Linked DNA regions of Homo sapiens: all the other regions are linked to region 7. The links are contacts of gene promoters, found by promoter capture Hi-C in blood cells and fetal thymus (Javierre and others, 2016). All regions are on one chromosome and are shown on one strand. The core of a region is centred on a gene start or on the middle of the fragment in contact, and the rest is flanking DNA. Distances in the headings are between cores, read along the strand shown.

Evidence for each region. Contacts are between HindIII fragments. The CHiCAGO score rates a contact against its expected background, and 5 or more counts as called.
Region 1: a contact is called between a fragment that was not itself captured here and the fragment with the promoter of LINC02583 in region 7, in 8 of 17 cell types (M2 macrophages, M0 macrophages, M1 macrophages and 5 more). The highest score is 10.3, in M2 macrophages.
Region 2: a contact is called between a fragment that was not itself captured here and the fragment with the promoter of LINC02583 in region 7, in 1 of 17 cell types (endothelial precursors). The highest score is 6.6, in endothelial precursors.
Region 3: a contact is called between a fragment that was not itself captured here and the fragment with the promoter of LINC02583 in region 7, in 10 of 17 cell types (non-activated CD4 T cells, naive CD8 T cells, fetal thymus and 7 more). The highest score is 8.3, in non-activated CD4 T cells.
Region 4: a contact is called between a fragment that was not itself captured here and the fragment with the promoter of LINC02583 in region 7, in 6 of 17 cell types (M0 macrophages, M1 macrophages, M2 macrophages and 3 more). The highest score is 8.9, in M0 macrophages.
Region 5: a contact is called between a fragment that was not itself captured here and the fragment with the promoter of LINC02583 in region 7, in 11 of 17 cell types (endothelial precursors, M2 macrophages, M1 macrophages and 8 more). The highest score is 9.6, in endothelial precursors.
Region 6: a contact is called between a fragment that was not itself captured here and the fragment with the promoter of LINC02583 in region 7, in 1 of 17 cell types (M1 macrophages). The highest score is 5.2, in M1 macrophages.

Annotation. Positions count from the first base shown.
Region 1 is chr2:46,046,930-46,050,340 of GRCh38, forward strand. The region is part of intron 10 of PRKCE (protein kinase C epsilon); the gene reads left to right. Among named protein-coding and RNA genes, the nearest start is that of EPAS1, 250 kb to the right of the region's middle. The HindIII fragment of the contact is 1,579 bases long and covers 744-2,322 here.
Region 2 is chr2:45,975,749-45,979,055 of GRCh38, forward strand. PRKCE (protein kinase C epsilon) reads left to right here. Exons shown (of 15, transcript NM_005400.3): 3 at 681-840; 4 at 3,228-3,262. Among named protein-coding and RNA genes, the nearest start is that of PRKCE-AS1, 300 kb to the left of the region's middle. The HindIII fragment of the contact is 3,462 bases long and covers 187-3,307 here.
Region 3 is chr2:46,063,663-46,066,631 of GRCh38, forward strand. The region is part of intron 10 of PRKCE (protein kinase C epsilon); the gene reads left to right. Among named protein-coding and RNA genes, the nearest start is that of EPAS1, 230 kb to the right of the region's middle. The HindIII fragment of the contact is 178 bases long and covers 1,273-1,450 here.
Region 4 is chr2:46,025,401-46,028,365 of GRCh38, forward strand. All of the region lies in intron 10 of PRKCE (protein kinase C epsilon), which reads left to right. Among named protein-coding and RNA genes, the nearest start is that of EPAS1, 270 kb to the right of the region's middle. The HindIII fragment of the contact is 4,201 bases long and covers 1-2,965 here.
Region 5 is chr2:45,997,725-46,001,110 of GRCh38, forward strand. The region is part of intron 6 of PRKCE (protein kinase C epsilon); the gene reads left to right. Among named protein-coding and RNA genes, the nearest start is that of EPAS1, 300 kb to the right of the region's middle. The HindIII fragment of the contact is 288 bases long and covers 1,889-2,176 here.
Region 6 is chr2:46,143,785-46,147,100 of GRCh38, forward strand. It overlaps PRKCE (protein kinase C epsilon), which reads left to right. Exons shown (of 15, transcript NM_005400.3): 12 at 1,309-1,447. Among named protein-coding and RNA genes, the nearest start is that of EPAS1, 150 kb to the right of the region's middle. RefSeq lists an enhancer at 138-637. The HindIII fragment of the contact is 1,451 bases long and covers 1,190-2,640 here.
Region 7 is chr2:46,427,706-46,430,782 of GRCh38, forward strand. LINC02583 (long intergenic non-protein coding RNA 2583) reads left to right here and starts at 1,485. Exons shown (of 4, transcript NR_103805.1): 1 at 1,485-1,574. The HindIII fragment of the contact is 1,565 bases long and covers 705-2,269 here.

The sequences.
Region 1 (3,411 bases), core at 283-2,782, 380 kb before region 7:
TTCACAGGCAGCTCTTAAAATCTCATCATGCACAGGAGGACACTGGGCTTTCCTCAACTTAGTGGGGAAGGCCATGATCAGCCTGCTCTCTGTCCCTTCTCCTGAAGTGAATTCTTTTTAGGTCAGGAGAGGTGTATCTGATATTCGAGAAATGATTGAGGCAGGAATCCAATGGCATCTTGTTCCTGGAGACCCAGCCTTCCTGGCCATTTTTATCCCTACTTAGAGAAGTTTTGAGGCACAGGATTAAGAGCAGGCTGGGCCAGGTGAGTCAAAGGCTTTCATTGAACTGCCCTCCTTGTCTGATACCTCCTTGCTAAACTCATTAGAAAAAGAGTACAGGAAATCTCATCTCCAGTTGGCCAAGGGAACCCGAGGAACTTGAATGGACAAGATCCCGTTAAGGGCTGATAAACACAACTGATGCCTGGTGATGAAAGTCTTCTTTTATACAGCAATGAAGACAGGTGGCTGGAACAAGAGACAGAAAAAACACATCGTGGAAGACATTGTTCTGGGAGGTGATTGTACCCTCTGCCCTCCCAGCAGGCTGTGAGCTCGCAGTGCTGTGTGGTCAGTGGAAGGAGGCCTTTACTTGGCACATCCTGTGTAACTTGAGGAGTTGGAGATCACGGTAAAACTCAAACCTATTAGTTACATGTTAGGTATTGAATGTTTGAAAAGCTGCATTTCAAAACACTGAATTTGATCAGGACACACTCTGGACAATGTCATTTGTTGAAAGCTTCAAATCAAAGTGGTTCCCATTTCCCCTCCCCTTATTTACTTAACTCATTTATTTTTTAGTAAGAATGCTACATAACTCAAAAGTGAATACTTGGAAAAAAGATTTTTTCAATAGGGAGGATATCTTGGCTTAAAATAAATACCATCAAAGCATTTCCACTGCTTACTAACCTTTGACTTGCATACAGGAAGTTTTCTGTCAAGTACCAGAAAATCCTGGAAAATTGAATTTGGTTTTAAAATGCAATTCTCCCTTGGCTTTAGAAGGACCAGCTGGGTAGCTCATTAAATGTAAAAAGTACTTTGAAAATTGGAAGACTAACTCACATATTAATTATCATCAATAGTTATCAAACCAGTGTATTTTAATTTAACTCACCTACTTCTAAACAGCGTGTCAAGGACTCCACAAATGAGCCTGCCTGCCACCCCTCCCACCCCCTGCCCCTTCCATAGTAAGGTTTAGTGACTTGCTTATGGGCACTTAGGGGAAAAGGAGAACTAAGTTCTGTTTTCTGTTCTTTCTCTGACTAGCCATAGGACCTTAGGGCAGGTACATGATCTCTTTGAGCCTTATTTTCCTTATCTGTGACATGGAGACAGTACTCCCTCCCAGCTTCATTCTCAGAACTGTCCTGAGGCTTCAGCTACAGCCTATTGAAAAGTCTCAAGGGTATTAACAAAATGGAAATGTCCTATCTTCATGTTCTTTTGTATTCCAGCCCCCATCAATTTCCCATGTCCAGAGATTCTTTACAGCCAACAGGGATCCATATGGGGTTCACTGGGCTCAATGTCCCACCAGAGCCCCTCTGCCAGTGCCTCCTACCGAGCAGATGACTTTCTAAGCAAGGTGCTCGGGTCTTGTCACCGAGGGGTGGACGTGCCCAGTGTCGGGGTCTGTCCAGTGGTCCTTGATTCCCCTTTGTCCACGCACTTGGCCTTTCTCCAGGGGGAGACGGATGATAGCTGGAAGTGATCTACTCTGCTTATGGGTTCTGGCCAGTTCTCTCTCTGTTTAGGGGTGAACCAGTGTCTGACAGGTGAACTTTTCCTTAGGGTAGGAAATACATTGGCCTTTAAATGCAAAAGGACACCAGGTCATTGAGCTCAGAACCTTCACCAGCTCTGGAAATATTGTTCCTCTTGCAGGACTCAACTCAGTGTGACTCTTGCCCTCCTCCTTTCTCCTTCCCAGACAGAATGCACTCTGCACTTTCCTATAGCTCTGTATGGGGCACCAGTCATGTGTTGTAATAGTTGGCCTGGAGTGTAGAGACTCGCCAGTAATGCCTCCATCTGACCTACACAGGAGGAACTCCAAAAAACTTTTATAAGCAATTTAGTTAGGCTCTTCTCTGTAGTCTAGAGTCCCAGGGCCTTCCTTGGAGTCCCGTGATGTCTCTTACCTTCATAGTCAGAATTGAAAGGCAGGAAGGAGATACAAGGTCTGTCTTTCCCCTTCTTGACTGAGCTTGGGGCAAGATTGTCCGGGCCCATTTTTCCTAGACGTTTCCTTAGCGCAACCCTCATCCTATTTGATGGTTTCCAGGGACCTCAGGGTTTCTGCTTAGAAGCTTCCCACCTGTCAGTATTGCCGAGTGGGCTTACAGCCTGATAGAAGCCCCCACCTCACTGGATTAGTGCTGCCCTGGTTTCTTCCCAGTCCTGACAATGCACATAGCCCAGCTCTCTCTCATGCCCACAGATACTTTAAGCTTCTATTGACTTAAAGTGGCCTGAGATAGGGCAACAGGAGATGGGACAACCTATCCCAGTTGGTGCAAAGCCCTTTACACGCACATCTTGCAATTAACTGTGAGCCTAGACTGGAGTCCAGCCCTTGGGCAGCCAAGGTAGTTTCTGCCTGATTGTTCCTAAGCAGACTCTGGTCAAGGGGGAAGCAGCTGCAGGTGTAATACCCGCTGCAGGAAATACCTTCTAGTATCCTTGTAGCTGTGGGAAAATATTCTCACTTGAATTCATGAAGGTCACCAGAGGGGCTTCCCTCTGCTTTCCACTCTGCATTCTCGTAAATCCCACCTCTTCTAGAAAGCCTGCCTCAGTTTCCCATCATGCGTTTCCTTCTGCCCAGTTCCTTGTGTTACACATCAGTTTAGCTCTTTCTGATACACCATTTTGTGTTCTGCAGTTGATTTCATGTAATTTACATTTTCCCATCTTGACTAAGACCCTGAGGCAAACCCGAGGCAGGTCCTTCTGTCCATCAAATCCAACACAGTACTGGTCCTGGTGAGTCCTCTGAGAGGTACCCCCAGCATGGTCACCATGGCCAGTGTAGAAGGCTGGGGGTAAAAGCTGGGCCCACCGACTGATGGGGAAACCTAAAGTTCTTGCAGAATTGGAGGCTTGGCACTCCCTCCACTGGCTCCCATTGCCCGCCCTGCTGCCTGGTCCCCAGGGGTAGGGTGGCTTAGCTGGGCTCATGGCCTGTGATGCACATTCCCAGATCTCTGAAGTCATTTCCCTGAAATCACATTTACCGTTCACAAGAAAAAGGCCAAAGCTGGACAAAGGCACTGCTGCCAAGACTCGAGCACTGGTAATTTCTTATGAGCCCTTTGTGATGGTAGAGTTTATGAAATGTAAGTAAACAGGCTTCCTTCTAATCCCTGAGCCGTGAGAAGCTGTCAGGGTTTATTT
Region 2 (3,307 bases), core at 668-3,167, 450 kb before region 7:
CTTTTTGACTCCAGTGGGATCTTTACAGCCCATGGTGGTGGTCTTGAGCCTTCGAGAAACTACTTTCACTGTGTCATATTTCCCTCTCCTTTTGACCTCTGGGAAAATGCTCTTGGTTGGCTTAGTCTAGGTAAGAGGAAGAAGGAAGAAGTCAGATTTATTAGGCAGCTACTTCTTGAGCCAGGAAGCTTAGGGTGTGGAGATTCATCTCATTGCGTCCTCTAAGCCACCCCCTGTGGCTGGCACTGCCATTGCCATTTACAAAGGGAGATGCGCTCAGATGCTCAGGGGGAGGAAACACCACCTATCCAAGGTCACACTGCTCAGGAGTTGCAGTAAGATGCGAACCTTGAGCCTTTTGACCCCCAAGCCCTTGAAACCAGCTGTAGCCTGTGTGGGGAGGAAAGGGCAGCCAGCCCTGGAGCAGAATTTGGATTGGATGGAATCTGAGGATATAGCAGGAATAGGCACACTCTGGGCCTTTCCACCCTACATGTGCTCGCTCACTCCAGCTGCTCAGTGGGACTCCTCAGACCCCCGAGTCCCTCCACACACAAAGGCTACCTCTCACCCACCCCAGCTCCACTCCCCCAGGGATGGAGTAGCTCTCCAGAGGGAGCTCATTTTGAAGGTGCACTAACCCAGACTCCGTTTTCTTCCCTGCTCTTGTCCTTCCCCAGCCCCTAAAGACAATGAAGAGCGTGTGTTCAGGGAACGCATGCGGCCGAGGAAGCGGCAGGGGGCCGTCAGGCGCAGGGTCCATCAGGTCAACGGCCACAAGTTCATGGCCACCTATCTTCGGCAGCCCACCTACTGCTCCCATTGCAGAGACTTCATCTGGTAAGCCTTTCTCTTGGGAACCTCTAATTACAACATCTCTGTTACAAGATGTCGGGGATGGGGTAGGGGAGACTATGCACCTCATTTAAAGAATGCTGGTGTGCCTCGTTTCTTCCTTATCTGAATGCAGGGGACTATTATGGAAGGCTAAGTGTGTGTTTGGTACATAGGGGGAAATACATGGAAAGAAGCGATGGTTTCTGGCAACTTTATACCTAGAATTTTATGAAAAGAGTTAAGATTTTAGTAACCAACAAGGATATTGTGACTGTGTGTGTGTGTGTGTGTGTGTGTGTGTGTGTGTGTGTGTGTGTGTGTCTTGTTTTGAGACAGAGTCTAGCTCTGTTGCCCAGGCTGGAGTGCAGTGGCATGATCTCCACTCAATGCAACCTCTGTCTCCCAGGTTCAAGTGATTCTCATGCCTCAGCCTCCCACATAGCTGGGATTACAGGAGCACACGACCACGCCTGGCTAATTTTTGTATTTTTAGTAGAGGTAGGGTTTCGCCATGTTGGCCAGGCTGATCTAGAACTCCTGGCCTCAAGTGATCCACCCACCTCTGCCCCCCAAAGTGCTGGGATTATAGATGTGAGCCATTGTACCCAGCTGATTGTGTGTTTTTAAAAAGAATACTTATCTTTTACAGACACACCTCAGGGTGAGGATTCCACTGAATAATAATCCACTGAAAAATAATTCACTGAATTATTTACAAGTGAAATTATCTGATGCCTAGGATTTGTTAGAAAATCAGGAAGGAGGCCAGGCACAAGTGCGGTGGCTGATGTCTATAATCCCAGCACTTTGGGAGGCCGAGGCACGCAGATTGCTTGAGGTCAGGAGTTTGAAACCAGCCTGGTCAACATGGTGAAACCCTGTGTCTACTAAAAATACAAAAATTAGCTGGCCATGGTGGTGTGCGCCTGTAATCCCAGCTACTTGGGAGGCTGAAACATGAGAATCACTTTAACCCTGGAGGTGGAGGCTGCAGTGAGCCGAGATCGCTATACTATACTCCAACCTGGGTGTGACAGAGTGAGACTCTGTCTTAAAAAAAAAAAAAAATCTGGAAGGAGGAGAGGGGCTGAGATAAAGATGATCGAAGGCCAGCCCCATTCCACTAACAATACCCAGGCTCAGAAATGAAAATGAGACTGGCCTGATGTCCTCTAGCTAGGAAGTGTCAGAAGTATGATTCTACCCCTAGTAGTCTGACTTTTAATGCTGATACTTTTCCTGACATCCCACCAGCCTTTCTAGCAAGCTGTCTGAGCTCTTTGAAGCTGATGTAGAGGTTGCCTTCATGAACCCTTGGATCCAACTGGGGAGAGCGAGTGAGGCCAGGATGCAGTATGAACCCAGCCAGGGACATCTGCACTGGGCTCTGAGGACCCCTTGGATTCCAGGTGTCCAGTAGTCACTTGTCTTATCCTCATGATGTCACAAAGCCAGTCATCCAGGTTGGCGTAGACATCTGAGATGATATAGCTCAGAGCAAGCCCAGCCCAACTGAGGCAGAAATAATGCCCCATTCCAGCCACAGATACTTCCAATTACCAGGGCAGACCCAGCTGTCTGACCTTCACTTGCTACATTTGGTCATGAACTGAGTGGTCGGTCTTACAGATCCAGGTCTCCTCTAAGTCCATGGGCAAAGGCCACTGAGCTCTAGGTTCCCTGGGGTGGAGCCTGAATAGCTTCTGGTTCCCACTGGGCTGGGAACTTCAGGGAGCTCCCTGACCATCTGTAGTTAGTACACTAAGGACAGGGGTAAGGCCGGGTTTGTGTGATAGTTCTGTGTCCATGCTGACTTTCTGTCTTGCCCTGGGAACACCACTCTGGCCATGGAAGGAACCTCTAATGTTGGCCTTCACCTAGACAACCTCTTGAACCTCTAGTTCGGGGCACAGACTGGCTTAGAACCATTGGTGGTCTTTGGACTGCCCAGGGAAATATACCTGCCAGCTGCAGCCCTCTTCCACAGTTAGAGGGCCCACAGAGCGTGTCCTGGTGCTGGGAGAAGAGGAATGTCCATTCTATCCACAAGGAAAGGTATGCTTCACTGCTCAATGCCTACCAGGAGCAAGCAGGGTCGTTTGTGGCTTTCCAGAACATTGCTGACCACACAGGAATGGCTCTCTGTATAGGAAATCAAGCTCTGATGCTGACCAAACCTTGCACCTCCCCAAGCACTGGGACTGCCCTCTGTGGGCTTCTGGAAGGAGACATTTAAGGCACCTTGCAAGTGAGAGAGAAATTACAATATTCTGCATACTTCATGTACTTGGTGCTATGTGGGTGGTGGCCCAAATTGGGTGGTTTTTCTGTTTGTTTTTTGACCTGGTAAGATTTCACTTTTTTTAAAAAAATGTTATTCTTCTTTTCAGGGGTGTCATAGGAAAGCAGGGATACCAGTGTCAAGGTAAGAGGCATTTATGAATTAAATCTTCAGAGGCCCGTGGTTAGA
Region 3 (2,969 bases), core at 112-2,611, 360 kb before region 7:
GAGAATTCCGCAACTGTGACCATCTTGCAAGGGGCAGGAAAAGATTTACAGTGTTTTGCTAGACCAATCGCCACTTCCTTCTGGGGTAAAAATCCTTACCAGCAACTCCTTACCAGCGACTCCTCTTCTGGCTAAATTGGAGTAGCATTTTCCTATCAAAGTCATTTAAGATACAGATTATTCAATAACCTGAGAGAAGGGTGGAGTATTCATTTCTAATGACTTCACAGAATTCCAGTCCTCTCTGAGCCCGAAGAGTTGTTGACTATCATCAGGTGTTAGGCCTCACATCTTTCATTTGCTAACAGTATTTTACTGTCTATGAAAATGGTTAACTGGTCGGGCACAGTGGCTCACACCTGTAATCCCAGCACTTTGGGAGGCCGAGGTGGGCGGATCACTTGAGGTCAGGAGTTCAAGACCAGCCTGGCCAACATGGTGAAACCCTGTATCTACTAAAAATACAAAAATTAGCCAGGCATGGTGACACGTGCCTGTAATCCCAGCTACTCAGGAGGCTGAGGCAGGAGAATCGCTTGAACCTGGGAGGTGGAGGTTGAAGTGAGCCAAGATCATACCACTGCATTCCACCTGGGTGACAGAGTGAGACTCTGTCTCAAAAAAAAAAAAAAAAAAAAAAGAAAAAGAAAATTGTTAACTGCCCTTAAAAATATAGTCGTTCTCCTTCGACACTCAAAAGTTCTCTATTTGCAAATGAAGTTCATATGAATTTGTTAATGATTCACTTCTCAGTAATTGGCAATCCCAAATTAATCAGATTTCCTTGCACTAATGGTTTCTTTAATAAATGATATTAGATGGTAATAGAAAGGACAGTCTTGGCAATAACTGCTTAAATCATAGCATGAGGGATTTAGATTTTCATCAGCAGCTTGCACCAGAAGCAGAGTCTGACTGAATATTATCTCCTTTGTAGATTAGATAGAAGAAGAATTAGGGAGATACAAAGAAGCATTTTCTAAGCATAGTTAGACTCTGATTTTGGTGACAGTACGAACTAGGGAAGTTGGAAAATGCCTCATTGGCCTAAAACTGGTAACATATAATAAACTAGGACTGGAGGCAAAATTACAGAAGTTTTTTTGGTAATTCTCTTGGGCTCTTTCTGGGGGATTCTTAGTCTTATAGAATTTTGCTACTTGATGCTCATCCATGGCCTGTGGAATGTATCGTCCTTTCATGTGGGTGTGGGGAGAAAAGGACTGGGGCAGTGGGAAAGGGGAGGCCCCATTGTTGCCAACACCAAGCCCAAGCTTTCTGTAGATGTGGCTCCCCATTTTCAACTAGAAGAAGAGAAATTTTTCATGTTCTAGCTTGAGAAGCCATGCTCTTAAGTTATTTGACCCTGTACATCCTCGACCCTTCAAAATATTTAAATTATTCCACACTTCAGCGCTGGCATCACAGATTATACGATAATAATTTACCAAGCTTCTTTTCTGCAAACAGGTAAAGGAGGAGGAGACATGGGTGGTAATGTAATTTCTGGATAGTTTAAACCTAAAAGCCTGCTATTAAGAGAAAAGGGGAAAATGACTGTTCAAGACCTGTATCTTGAAAGAATGCTGTTTATCTAGTATTCAGGGGCCAGGGAGTGTGTCTGTGGGTAAACTAAGCAATTCCTCCAAGAATTCTGACGGGAAACAGTTTTGGGGTTTGTCATAGTTTCTAATATTCTCTTAAAATAATCTGTTTCCCAACAAGTAAAAGCAGACGTCATTTCACGTAAAGAATTTCTCTGACTCCACCAGTAGCCCTTCCATCTTCTCATTTGTCCGGTTAAGCTTGAGTCAGAAAAAGAACACAACAATTTTGGTAAAAAATTTGTTGTTCTTCTCATCTGAATAGCCAAAAGTTATTGGTGTGTAAGGACCACAGTTCAGATAAGAGCTACTGTAACTAAATTTAGAGAAATTACTTTTCAGATCGACTTTCCTGTTCTAAAATTACATACTTCTGGTTGGTCTTTGCTTTATCTTCCTAATCAAGATCTGAGGTCACTGGAGGTCAGAAACATATGGCAAAAAGGAATTTAAATATTTTCCAATTAAAAAATTATCCTAAAATATCTTTATTATATTTCCAAGCCATAAATGATCACAGGTGCTTTGAGCCATGGTACTGATCCCAGGAAAGTGTTTGCAAACGTTTAAAAAATAGAATGGATCAGTTGATTCATGCTTTAGCTGATGGCACGGTCTCTTGGGAAGCTAACCCACTCTTGCCTCTTGCCCATGGGGCCAGGGGAACACTGCTGTTTAATTTGTCTTAAATACCTCTTCTGAGACTGTATTGGTCCCCGACCACCCATTTGCAAAGATCCAGCATCCGTCAAGACTATTTAACAGACGTTCCAAAAAGCTGGATGCTGACAGTCCAACTGTCATTTTAACCTTGGCATCTCCCATGACAGAGTGTGGAGCAGCAGGCTGTGACCTAGAGGAAAGACACAGAAGTGGTGAGGGGTTGCAGGGGCTGTAGCGTGGTGAGATGGCCCTGTACAATATCAGGTGAAGGGGAAGCATTTATAAACTTCCTTTGTTTTGATGTATCTGTTTTTCCCCCTATTTCTGCCTATACACCTACTTGAGCACTGGCTTGGCTAAAGTTACCCCCAAGAAAATGTTGAAGTAATGAGTCACCTACCTCACTTCATTTTTTTGAGACCTCACTTTCTTTCCTTCCTTTCTTTCCCTCCGAATTTATGAATGAAAATAGATAGGTAGAGGTTGAATTGGCTAAGGCTGTCTGTTGCTTTTTGATTTTCCCATCTCCAGGGGAAGAGGGCAGGGAACGATCCACTCCAATTAGGAATCCTAGACTTATATTCATTTAACAACTTTATATTATCCAGAACATTTTGTACAAATACATTGTAGAAATAAGTTATTTCTAGTGCTTGGGGCATAGTCTGTGAACTGATTTGTCTGTATATCTCGTAAATTTTC
Region 4 (2,965 bases), core at 22-2,521, 400 kb before region 7:
CAGGTATTCCAGGGATAGAAAAAGACACAATCCTTGTTCAAAGAACTGCTGGTCCACCTAGGGAGGTTAGGCTAATAGGTGAACCAGAGAATGAAAATCAGAGGAAGAGATGAGTGGGCTGACTAGTAGGTATACTCCTACAAATTGGAGGAAACTGAGGCACAAGCGTTGAAGTGCCCCTTCCGGGTCACATACACGCTCATGTGCTCCCTCTCTCTCCCTTGCTCTCACTCTCTCCCTCTGTCACTCTCTCGCTGTCTCATAAGGGACTTTGTCACAGGAATAAGAACCCTGGGTTCCACCTACCCCACAGGAGCACAGTGGCAAGGTCCCATCTGATTCAAGGAAATTGGCTTTGTAGGGTTGTTATTGTGTGAAAAGGAGCAAGCCCTGTCCAAGGCAGATCTGGATGTTTGTGTAGTTCAGATCCATTTAGCTCCCTGGCCAGTGTTGATCTCTGCTGCTTTAAACCACATTAATCTCTGGGAGGGCAAACTGACCCATCACTATGGGAACCAGAGTGAGCCTGTGTCCTGGGTACTAGGTAAACACTGGAAGTCAGTACCTGGTAGACGCCATAGGCAGAAGCAAACTGGGGCCTTCCAAAAGCTGAAAATGATCAATAGATATGATTCTTGTGCATCCATATCCCAGGAAGGAGGGATTCTGTTTAGCTCTTTGAGCTAATTGTTAATTTTCAAATCTTGAAGACACTATTGAGCATGAAATGCAGATATTCAAATACCCCTTTCTCCTTGGTAGGAAATGGTACTAACAGTCTGCAGGATCATGGGAGTAAAAAGCGCAGTCTAAGCACATAGGCATTCATGGGGAGAGTATACGAAGTTAGAGGGTATAAAAGCTATGTGGATGGTTCAAAGATTAAGGTAAAGATGTGAAACCTAAAATCTCAATTCTCTAGAATGGGACATTTAGACTTCATGGGTAGAGGAGGACAAGAATCGGGAGTATGGGCAGTTAGACAAAATCAGAAAGAAGCGTAGAAGACTATGCAGAAACATTAAGAATGTAGTGGTGGAAATGTTACCTTTTTGGAAGATGGTATCATGCAGAAGGTTTGAATGCATTTCTCTGATCTTTAATTCTACCAAAAGTGTCACTCTGATGTAAGAAAATATTTAGGTTGAAAAGGTGAGGAACTGGCCACAGCTTTCCTAAATGTGGTTGACAACCTGTATCCAAGAGAACAGAATGAATTGGTCGATTTGCTGTGTCATGACATTTTAGGGATGTTTTTGGGATGTTTAAGGGATGTTTTTGAAGGGGATTTATAAGAGAGTAAATGAGACCCCTTAAACACAGAGATCTGAGGCATAAGAGCTGGTAATTTTAAAAGATACACAGCTGACTACAGAAGGAAAGAAGCAAGTCCCAGAATAGACATGTAGCATATTTCCATTTCTATAAAACCCCCAAACAGGCGAGACTAAACAATATTCTTAGGAGGAAACACATGGGTGATGAAACTGTAAAGAAAAGCAAGGGGCCGGGTGTGGTGGTTCATGTCTGTAGTCCCAACATTGGGAGGCCAAGGCAGGAGGATTGCTTGAGCCCTGGGAACATAGTGAGACCCTGTCTCTACAAAAAATTGTTTTAAATTAGCCTGGCACGGTGATGTGTGCCTGTTGTCCCAGCTACTCTGGAGGCTAAGGTGGGAGGATCGCTTGAGCCTAGGAAGTCAAGGCTGCAGTGAGCCATAATCATGCCACTGTACTCCAGCCTGAGCAACAGAGCAAGACCCTGTCTCAAAAATAAATAAAAGAATTAGCCAGGGATGGTGGCACACACCTGTAGTCCCAGCTATTCGGGAGGCTGAGGTAGGAGGGTAGGTTGAGCCCAGGAGGTTGAGGCTGCAGTGAAGCATGATTGTACCACTTGTACTTCATCCTGGGCATCAGAGTGAGACCCTATCTCAAAAAAGAAAGAAAAAGAAAAGAAAAACAAGATCATGATTACCAGGGAAGTCCAAATAGGGACTGAATGAGGATGGGGAGAGAGGTTGCAATTAAAGAGAGTTAAAGGGGTTTCAAAGGCCAGCAACCATGTTCTATCTGTCAAGGTGGGTCACAGCTAAAAGTGAGTCTTATTTGATCTTTAAAATGCATATGCATATTTTACATATTCTCATTCGTAGGTATATTTTACAATAAGGCAGGGAAGGGGAACAAGAACATGAAAGCATCCAAACTGTCATAGGCACTAGCATTTTAAATGATGACATGCTCTCCAAAAATTCGAACTTTAACAAAAAACTGAGCTTGTGCACTACCTCTGTGTATCATTCTTTTGCCACTAAAGTTTCGATTTTCCTGTTCTTTTGGCAGTATGATCTGTCTCAAGGACAAGAAGTGTGGTGACTGGTCCCATGGCCTATTTAGCTGGAAGAATGAAGCGTAGTCCCTATCCTCTTTCCAAGACCAAGGCCAAGATGGGGCTCAAGACCAGGGGGTTATCTACAGAACTGCTGGCCCACCTTCCACCTACCCTGGGGGACCTCCCTCTTGAAGGTTGGGATTCTTTTTTTTCTTTTTTTTTTTTGAGATGGAGTCGGGCTCTGTGGCCCAGACTGGAGTGCAGTGGCAAGATCTTAGCTCACTGCAGCCTCCGCCTCCCGGGTTCACGTGATTCTCCTGCCTCAGCCTCCCGAGTAGCTGGGATTACAGGCTCCCACCACTGCACCCGGCTGACTTTTGTGTTTTTAGTAGAGACGGGGTTTTGCCATGCTGGCCAGGCCGGTCTCAAACTCTTGACCTCAAGTGATCCGCCCGTCTCAGCCTCCCAAAGTGCTGGAATTACAGGCGTGAGCCACCGCGTCCGGCCGAAGGTTGGGATTCTTAAAGAGTAACCTAGCCCAGCCTCACTCTTTCAGCAAGCAGCTCTGAGTTGGGGGGTAAACTTTCTTCACTGCCACAACATTTGTGTTTTGCAACATGTTTTTAAACCA
Region 5 (3,386 bases), core at 783-3,282, 430 kb before region 7:
TTAGTAGAGATGGGGTTTTGCCATGTTGGCCAGGCTGGTCTCAAACTCCTGACCTCAAGTGATCCACCTGCCTTGGCCTCCCAAAGTGCTGGGATTACAGGCATGAGCTTCCATACCCGGCCGGTAAGTTGTATTTTAATTAATTCAAAATATTTTAAAACTTATCTTGAGATTTCTTTTCTCACTCATATGCTATTTAGCAATGTGTTTAATCTCCAAGTATTTTGGAATTTTTGAGCTATCTTTCTCTTATTGATTTCCAGGTTAATTCCATTGTGGTCTAAAGCCAACATTGTATGATTTCCATTCTTTTAAATTTGTTAAGGTGTATTTTATGGCCCAGAATGTGGTCTTTCTTGGTGATTGCTTCATATCTTGAGAAGAATGTGTATTCTTCTGTCACCGAATGAAGTTGTTGATAGATGTCAGTTATATTCAGTTGATTAATGTTGCTGTTGATTCAGTTGATTAATGTTGCTGTTGATTAATGTTGCTGTTGATTTGATTAATGTTTCTGCCTGCTAGATCTGTTTATTTTTGAATAAAGGGGTGCTGAAGTCTCCAATTATAATAGCAGCATCATCTGTTTCTCCTTGTAGTACCATCAGTTTTTGCCTCACTTACTTTGATGCTCTGGTTTTAGGTACATACACGTTAAAAATTACGTCTTTTTTGAGAATTGACCTTTTTATCCCTAATAACTTTCCTTGCTCTGAAGTCTGCTGGGTCTGAAATTAATTTAGCTTTTCTGCTTTTTTGGGTTTAGTGTTAGCATGGTATATCTTACTCTATGTCTTTACTTTTAATCTGTATGTGTCTTTAAGGTGGGTTTCTTGTGAACAACATATAGTTAGTTGGGTCTTGTTTTTTTTGATCCACTCTAACAATCTGTCTTTTAATTGGTATATTTAGACTATTGACATTTGAAGTCAATGATTATTGATTATTGACATACTTGGGTTAATATCTACTATAGTTAGTACTGTTTTCTATTTGTTGCCCTTATTCTTTGTTTCTATGTTTGTCTTCCACTCATTTTCTGCCTTTTGTGGTTTTAATTGAGCATTTAATATGTTCGTATTGTTTCTCTCCTTTCTTAGCGTATCATTTATACTTTCTTTTTTACTTATTTTAGTGCTTGCTGTGGAGTTTGCAGTATGCATTTACAACAAATCCAAATCTACTTTCAAATAATATTGTGCTGCTTCATGACAGTACAAGTACCTTATAATAACAAAATTATCCTAATTCCTCCCTGCCATCCTTGTCTCATTACTATCATTTATTTCACTTACACATAAGCATACCTAGCATATATGAAATACTATAATTACACATAATCAGCACATTACTAATATTATGATTTTGGGCAAACCATTAGCTGTTAAATTAATTAAGAATAAAAATAAAAGTTTTTATTTTACCTCCACTTATTTCTTCACCTTTCTTTACCTGCTCTCTTTTTCATGTAGATCCAAGTTTCTGAGCTGTATCATTTGTCTTCTCTCTGAAGAACTACTTTTAACATTTCTTACAAGGCAGATCACTGCCCATAAATTCCTTCCATTTTTGTTTGTCTGAGGAAGTTTTAATTTCTCCTTCACTTTTGAAGGATAATATTGCAGGGTAGAGAATTCTAGGGTGGTGGGGTTTTTATCTCAACATTTTGAATATTTAACTTCTTGATGGCATGGTTTCTGAGGAGAGGTTGGATGTAATTCTTATTTTTCCTCCTTTATAGGTAAAACTTTTTTTTTTCCTTTGACTTCTTTCAGCGTTTTTTAAATAGTTGATTTTCTGTAGTTTAGAAATTATATGCCTTGGTATAGTTTTTTGTTGGTTTGTTTGTTTGTTTCTTTTTGGCATTTATCCTGTGTGGTGTTCTTCAAGCTTCCTGGAGCTGTGGTTTGGTTTGGTGTCTGACATTAATTTTGGGAAATTCTCTGTCCTCATTGTATCAAATATTAATATTTTTTTCTGTTCCTTTCTCTTTCTTCTCGTAGTGGTAGTCTCTTTTTGCATATGTTACACTTTTTGTAGTTATCACCCAATCCTTGGATATTTTTTCCAGTCTTTGTTCTCTTTATTTTTTCATTTTTGAAGCTGCTATGGATATATCCTGAAGCTCAGAGATTGTTTCTTCAGCCATGTCTAGACTACTAATAAGCCCATCAGAAGCTTTCTTCATTTCTGTTAGTGTTTTTGATCTCTAGCAGTTCTTCTGATTCTTTCTTAGCATTTCCATCTCTCTGCTTATACTGCCCATTTGTTCTTACATGCTGTGTACATTATCCATTAGAACCCTTAGCATATTAATCATAGTTGTTTTAAATTCCCAGTCAGATAATTCCAGCATCCCTGCTATATCTGAGTCTAGTTCTGATGTTTGCCTTGTCACTTCAAACTGGTTTTTTGGGGTTTTTTTGTTTTTTTTTTTCTTTGCCTTTTAGGATGCCTTACAGTTTTTTCTTGCCAGACATTATATACCGGGTAAAAGGAACTGTCAGTAAACAGGCTGTTAGTAATGTGAGTAACGTGTGGAGGGAGGGAAAGAATTACATAGAGCTGTGATTAGGGTGTTTTCATGAATTTGTGCCTTTGAGCTGTGAACCTCACAAGTGCTGTTCAGTCCTCCCCTGGCCTTAGATAGGACAGGATGGCTAGAGTGGGCTGGAGTTGGGGATTTCCTTGTCCCCAGATCAGTCGGGGTCTGATAAAACCTCAATCTCTGATAAAAAAAAAAAACAACCCTCAACCTCTGATAAAATAGTTTCTCCTAAGAGAAGCCCTCGTTAAGAAGAGCAGAGTGCTCTGGGCTATTTTAAAAAATGGTTCTCTCCCCACGTTCCCCACCCCCAACCCCCACACTGAAATCCTGAGATTTTCTCCATATTTACTATGAGAATCTAGTTGAGCTCCTGAAGAGCACGACTCTCAACTGAATGTACAAAAGTCTATCAACTCAACGACTGGGTCCCCCTTAGAGTTTTTGACTCTCAGGCTTGTCTGCTCTGAGCCCATTTGTTGGTTACAGTTACAGTTTTTCTACCCCAGCATTGTTCCTACAGAGGTTTCTGCTTCAGTAAGTTGCGATTCTCTGTATTCGCCTGGTTGGCTGTCTAATTCTGGGAGCAGCAGTTTCAGTTTGCCCTAGGACTTCACTTCACTTGGTGGATCTCGGAAGAGCTGTTGATTTTGTAGTTTGTTCAGCGTTTTGCTTGTTAGAATGGAGTGCTGCTGACTTCTAAGCCCCTTAGGTGCCAGACTTCAATGAGCAGGTTGTTTTCACCTGTGATGTCTTACACCAAGGACAACTAAGTGAAGAGGGAAAAGCAAAGGAATTCATTGAATTCAGACTGGAGATCTGAAAGATTCCCAGTCCCTGG
Region 6 (3,316 bases), core at 665-3,164, 280 kb before region 7:
AGCAGCATATTTTATATGCTCTTTTTTCTCAAGAAGTCCCAGCTGTAAGTGGAAACGGGGTCGTGGCTACAATGCAGGCTGGTCCTAAAGTGCTTCCTGCCCCACCTTTGCACTCAGGCCTGGATCCCTGGCGATGGCCGGAGTTCACATCTTGACGCCAGCAGACCCCTCCTGCTTTCTGTGTGCAGACAAATGGGCCTTCTTTGCAAGACCCTTCACCCTGCATCCCAGCATGGCTGTTGCGGGGAGCCCAAGGTGGATACCACCACCCAGTCTGGGTTCTTCTACCGTGTCAGGGCTGTGGGTTCCAGGCATGGTGGCAAGGAATTTTTACCCAGAACCCCAAAGTGTAAAACAGGCCCCAAGGGAGCTGCACTGTTTGAGACTGGCATGCCCCTATGGCTCTTGCTTGCTGCACAGAACCACGTGGGCTCTGTGGGTCCAGGTGATTATAAGCAATGTGCCTTCCTTGCTGCCTCCAGACCTTTCCCCCACCCAGCCTGCTTGCCCCTAGGAAAGTGATCTTACAAATGCATTGTGCTCATGCAGGCAGGATGCTTATTGCTGTTAGCATGCATTTCAAATTCTTTTTCCTAGCATTCCAGGCTCTTTGAGCAAAACATTCCTGTCTTGCTTCACCATTCACTAGGGCCCAATTCTCTGGCCTCCTCACTACCTTTTGCATCAGCTATATTGGCCTTCTCCTCTCTCCCATCTTCTCTCCTCACAGTGTATCGAACCCTTATCTTCTAACCATGTTTCTCTTGAGGGGCGCTGTTTCCTGGAAGCCCTCACTGCCTGCACTAGCTGTTTGTGGTCTCCCGCTCTGATGCACATTAGCTCTCATAGTGTTCTATAAAGTAGTGCCTGACTCTTAGGTGGTTTTAACCGTTTCGTTGATGTCCCTATGTGTCATGCTGGGAACCCCAGCTGATCCCCATGGTTAGTTCATGAGGGACAGGGGTAGATGCTTCTTTCTTTCATAGCAGGATCTCATTAATATGAATGTGGGTGCATAGCAGGGCTTCTATATATACCTACTGACTTAGCTCTATTAAACCACAGCAGTCTTGATATATTCCTGGGGTTACAGAAGTTCCTCCCTCTTGCTGAAGAAAGTGGAGGTGCCGTTAGGGGCTGACTAACATGAGAGAGAGCCCCTGGACTGAGATGGGTTTCAAGAAACACAAGCTTCTTTCAGGACTTTTTTGCTGGAGATTTCCCTAAGATAGGCACATACCTCCAACTCAGGAAGACTATATTGGGGTGAGTGACGTATTGACATTATGGTCCTGGCCTATCTTGCAGGGATTTGAAACTGGACAACATCCTTCTGGATGCAGAAGGTCACTGCAAGCTGGCTGACTTCGGGATGTGCAAGGAAGGGATTCTGAATGGTGTGACGACCACCACGTTCTGTGGGACTCCTGACTACATAGCTCCTGAGGTAAGACCTGTGTGCAAAGGTTCACCTCCTCCTGGTGCCAGGACCGAGGCAGGGGTCCAAACCCATGCACTGGGGTCATCTAGTGGTGCTGGGGGAAGGCTCTGGAAATCCAGGATGGATTCTAGGAAGGAGGGAGAAAAGGAAAGGAAAAAAGTTTGCTGATTGATGTCTGTCAAGAAGTCCTAGTGTTGGGGAGATGATGAGTGAAATGAGAGTAACAGGCTATTTCCCAAACCCGGGCAAGTTCACACTGAACATCTCTTTCCCATCCTAGTCCAGAACCACCAATAAATCTAGGACCAAGAAAAACGTGTTGACTTTTATTATTGTTTTCATGTCTTTAAAATCAGAACAGGGTGGGCACAGTGACTCACATCTGTAATCCCAGCACTTTGGGAGGCCAAGGCAGGTAGATCGCTTGAGCCCAGGAGTTCAAGACCAGCCGGGGCAACATGGTGAAACCCTGTCTATATAAAAAATACAAAAATTAGCCAGGCATAGTGGTGCAAACCTGTAGTCCCAGCTACTTGGGAGGCTGAGGTGAAAGGATCAATTGAGCCCAGAAGGTTGAGGCTATAGTGAGCCATAATTGCACCATTGCACTCCAGCCTGGGTGACAGAGCAAGACCCTGTCTCAATAAAAAAAAAAGTAAAAAATAAAATCAGAATAAAGGAGCATCATTGATCATGGGAGCACTTCACTTTATCAGCTACAATTTGCTAACAGTAAAACTAGGAACTGTTTGCTATTTCCTGCATAGTGGCAGTTCTATGCTGTGAGTACACAGGATGGAGCAGGAAGAGGAGAGTGACTGTGCCTCATTATATACAGATATCAGAGATGTTCACTGTGAACCACTCCAATAGGTTGCCTTTCCTGAAAGTTGTTTGGGATGTTTTGCTCAGCATGAAGTGTTTGTTTGCCTTATTCCTGCCCAAACTGAGAGATAACTAGTGTGATGTGATTCAGATTTAAGACATGGCCTGTCATAGACAATCAAAATGATCTTCATGGTTCTGAGACATGTAAGATAGGAAAGAAGTACCAATCCCCACTAAACATCGCCCATGGCGGATAGGTATTAGCACATTCAGAGCTCATTTCTTTCAGTGGGCATTGTTTGAGCACGTGCTAGGCACAAAGCAATGTGGAGATAAAGAACTGACTGAGACACTTGTCCCTATTCTAAAGAAGCTTTTGGTCTAAAGGGAGTGATAGATAAGTAAACAACTAATTAAGCAGAATAAATAGGCACATAAAAGAAGATGGTATCCTCAGGGATCAGGAAAGGCTTCTTGGAGCACCTGGTGGATGAATTGAGTTGTAAAGAATGAGGATTTCCTTTGACGGAAGGGGTGGGGAGGGTATTCCTGAAAACAACAGGATTGGAACGGGGGCAGGACAGGAAAGGAGGTTCAGTGTCCCTGGGCCCTGGATCCTTTGAGGGCAGGGTCTGTGTTTCTAATCTGGGTACTGCCAGGATCCGGCACACAAATCAGGATCTTAGAAAGGTTTGTTAAAAAATGACAACTTATGACATTCCAACATGAGCAAAGGCCAAGGGACAAAAACATCTTGGTCTTTTCCAGGACAGTTAAAAAGTGTAGCTAGATCATAGGGTTTCCTGGTGCTCATAGTAATGAATGAGATTGGGATAAAGACCCAGTGAATGTGGCTTTGATCCTGTAGGATCTGTGGACCCACTCAGGGTTTCAGTGGAGGAGAGTCCTAGTCAGATCCATCCCAGGAAGAAGGAAGGCCACAGCTGTGCAGATCAGAAGGCAGGGAGTGAGGGACTGATGGTCAGGAGGCTTCACAGACCACACAAGACAGGGGAGGCCTGAGGAACATCTCGAAGTGAAGGTGAT
Region 7 (3,077 bases), core at 235-2,734:
TGGTATTTTTAGTAGAGACAGGGTTTCACCGTGTTAGCCAGGATGGTCTCGATCTCCTGACCTCGTGATCCACCCGCCTCGGCCTCCCAAAGTGCTGGGATTACAGGCATAAGCCACCGCACCTGGCTGAATATATATTTTTTTATATATAGTATGATATATATGTACTCCATCAATACTCTTGCCCTAGACTCCACATATTTTAGGGCAAGCCTTTATACTAGAGAAGATAAATACAGTCAAAAGACAGTTGTTTAAAAAGACTAATAAAATTGATAAATCTTGATGAGAGTGTTCAAATAAAAAAGAAAGCTCAAATATCCATATTATGAATAAAAACAGGGGCATCACTATAGACCCAACAGACATTGATATCTCATGATATGTCATAATTATATCTCATAAGAGATATTCCGAATAACTTAAAACAAATAAATTTTAAAATTTGGATGAAATAGACAAATTTCTTGAAAAATAAAATTCACCAAAACTGCCAAAAGAAATAGCAAATCTAAACAGTATTATAATTTTAAAAAATTTAATATATAAACCTTCCCACAAAGAAATTCTTGGCCCAGATGCTTATAAGTAAACTTTACCCAAGATTTCATGAAGATATTTTGTCAGTCTTCCATAAACTTAGGTTTAATTAAGGTATTTTGTCAGTCTTACATAAACTTTCCATAAAACCAAAAGAGACGGCAAGCTTCAAAACTGATTTTATAAGACTGGTATTATCTTGATATCAAAACCTGACTAGTATATTTTAAGGAAGTAAAATTACAGACCAATCTTACTCAAGAACATAAATGAGAATTTCCTATACAAAGGAACGAATGAATGTGTACATTAATGAATGCATGGGTTTATTTCCTGGTTTTTCATAGACCTACAACAGAAATCCACTCAGCCTGACAAAGTAAGGATTTTAATACCAGTCTTGGCACATACCCTCAAGAACCCCTGGATGCTAAAATGGCTCAAAGAGCTAACAAAGTCTGGACAAACCAACATGCCTGGTTTAATTAGTCTGTAGGAAGTCCAGATATCGGTATTTCTTAAAAGCCTTCCAGAGTTCCGACAGAGATCACGGTGAGACTCTGAGCTCCGCGGCTAGCTCCCCTGGGGCCCTCCAAACCCTGGGCCAACGGGTGAGTTGGGGGAGCCCCAGGACAGACTGGGGCCTCCGCCCTGCAGATATCCCAGAGCCCTTGCTATGGCTCCCACCGGCCACACCCAGGCCTTGAAGGAGCATCGACCATATTCCTCAACCCACCTCGGTGACCTGATGGTGGCGGCAGCCTCTCCCAGCCGACCCCGCCGACCGCTGGATCTCCAGAGGACACCCCTGCCAAGCCACCCGGATGCAGAGCCTTTGAGTGGCAGCTGCCGTGGCCGGCCGGAAGCATGGCGGCGGCAGGGAGGCCCCTAGGGTGTGGCAGGGCGGGTCTACGGAGGCCTCTTTAGGCCACAGAGCAACGTAAAGCCTAGGCCTGCAGAGACTGCTCAGTCACAGTTGAAGGAGACCTACTGAGTCCTGAGGACAACCAACAAAGGCCTTAACGGCACAGAAGGTGAGCAAAGTCCTGGAGGAGGGTGAGCAGAAGGATCAGTGGCCATCGCGGGTTGGTGTTAGTTCTACCAGACCTCTATGTCGCAAGAGAAATGGTAGGATGACAGGCCACAGTTGGCCCGCTGGACATGCCCACCACCCTTTGGGAAGGTTTACTGGCCGTTTATAGAAAACCTGTGTGTATATAACATGAAAAAGTTGCTCTCAACTTCCCTCCAACCTTTTAAAAGAAAACATTTTCCACATCTAGGCTTTCTAGATGAGAAGAGGTTGCCGACGTATGACAGAGTTAGAAAATCACACATCTTGTAAATTCTCATTTGTTTAAAAAGAAATCATAGGCCGGGCGCGGTGGCTCATGCCTGTAATCCCAGCACTTTGGGAGGGCGAGGCGGGCGGATCACGAGGTCAGATCGAAACCAGCCTGACCAACGTGGTGAAACCCCGTCTCTACTAAAAATACAAAAATTAGCCGGGAGTGGTAGCGGGCATCTGTAATCCCACCTACTCGGGAGGCTGAGGCAGGAGAATCGCTTGAACCCAGGAGACAGAGGTAGAGGGTGCAAGTGAGCGGAGATTGCACCATTGCACTCCAGCCTGGGTGACAGAGCAAGAATCCGTCTCAAAAAAAAAATTATAAAAAATAAATGTCTTCTGGAGGTGACTTTGAAGTGGTTAGACCACCTCTGGAAGCGAAGCTTCCACGTTTGTTCAGTGAGTTAAAGGACATAGAAAACCTGAGAAGGAAGTTCTAGGCCAGTCTGGTCATATCTGAAGAGATTTTCATGTTCTAATCTAACCTTTGTTTTGTGTACATTTTATTAATGCTCACCACTGTACATAGAGTTGACTAACGTAAAACAATCCCTTCATAAATGTCCTTTTGTTTGTTTATAGGAAGTCCTGTCTTCTGGGATTGAGTTTGGTAATCCACCCCTTGGAGCTAAACACAGTAGTATCCTTAGTCGTTGGGATGGTGGGAGAGGGAGAAGAGGAAGGATGAAGGAAAGGGCTCTTTGCTAGTATCTCCATATCTAGAAGATGGTTTAAACTCATACCCATAGCTCTATATGAGCATTTTCAGTAAAGTGCCTGTGTTTGTTGTGGACAAGTTTTATTATTTTGCAACATCTGAGCTTTATGAAAGTCCTGGAGTGACAATGTATGATAAAAAGTAGAGCTAGTGAATTAGGCAATTTATTAATATTTTTTGTTATAACTGATAGAAAAGATGCATCTTGAACATGGAATTGTTAAGCCACGTCTGAGCAGTGTATGTCAGGACTTGTTCATTAGGTTGGCAGCAGAAGGGCAGAATGAAGTATAAAGGGAGAGATGTATGCAAATGTGTCTATGTTTACATTTTGATACTAGTCATTGATATATGTGCAACTCTTTTGGCTGTACTATAGGAATACAGTAAGTAATTTGAAGGAAACATACCTTCTTGCTAATATTTTAATGGTATAGATATGAGAAATTATCTTAGAAACATTATACATAG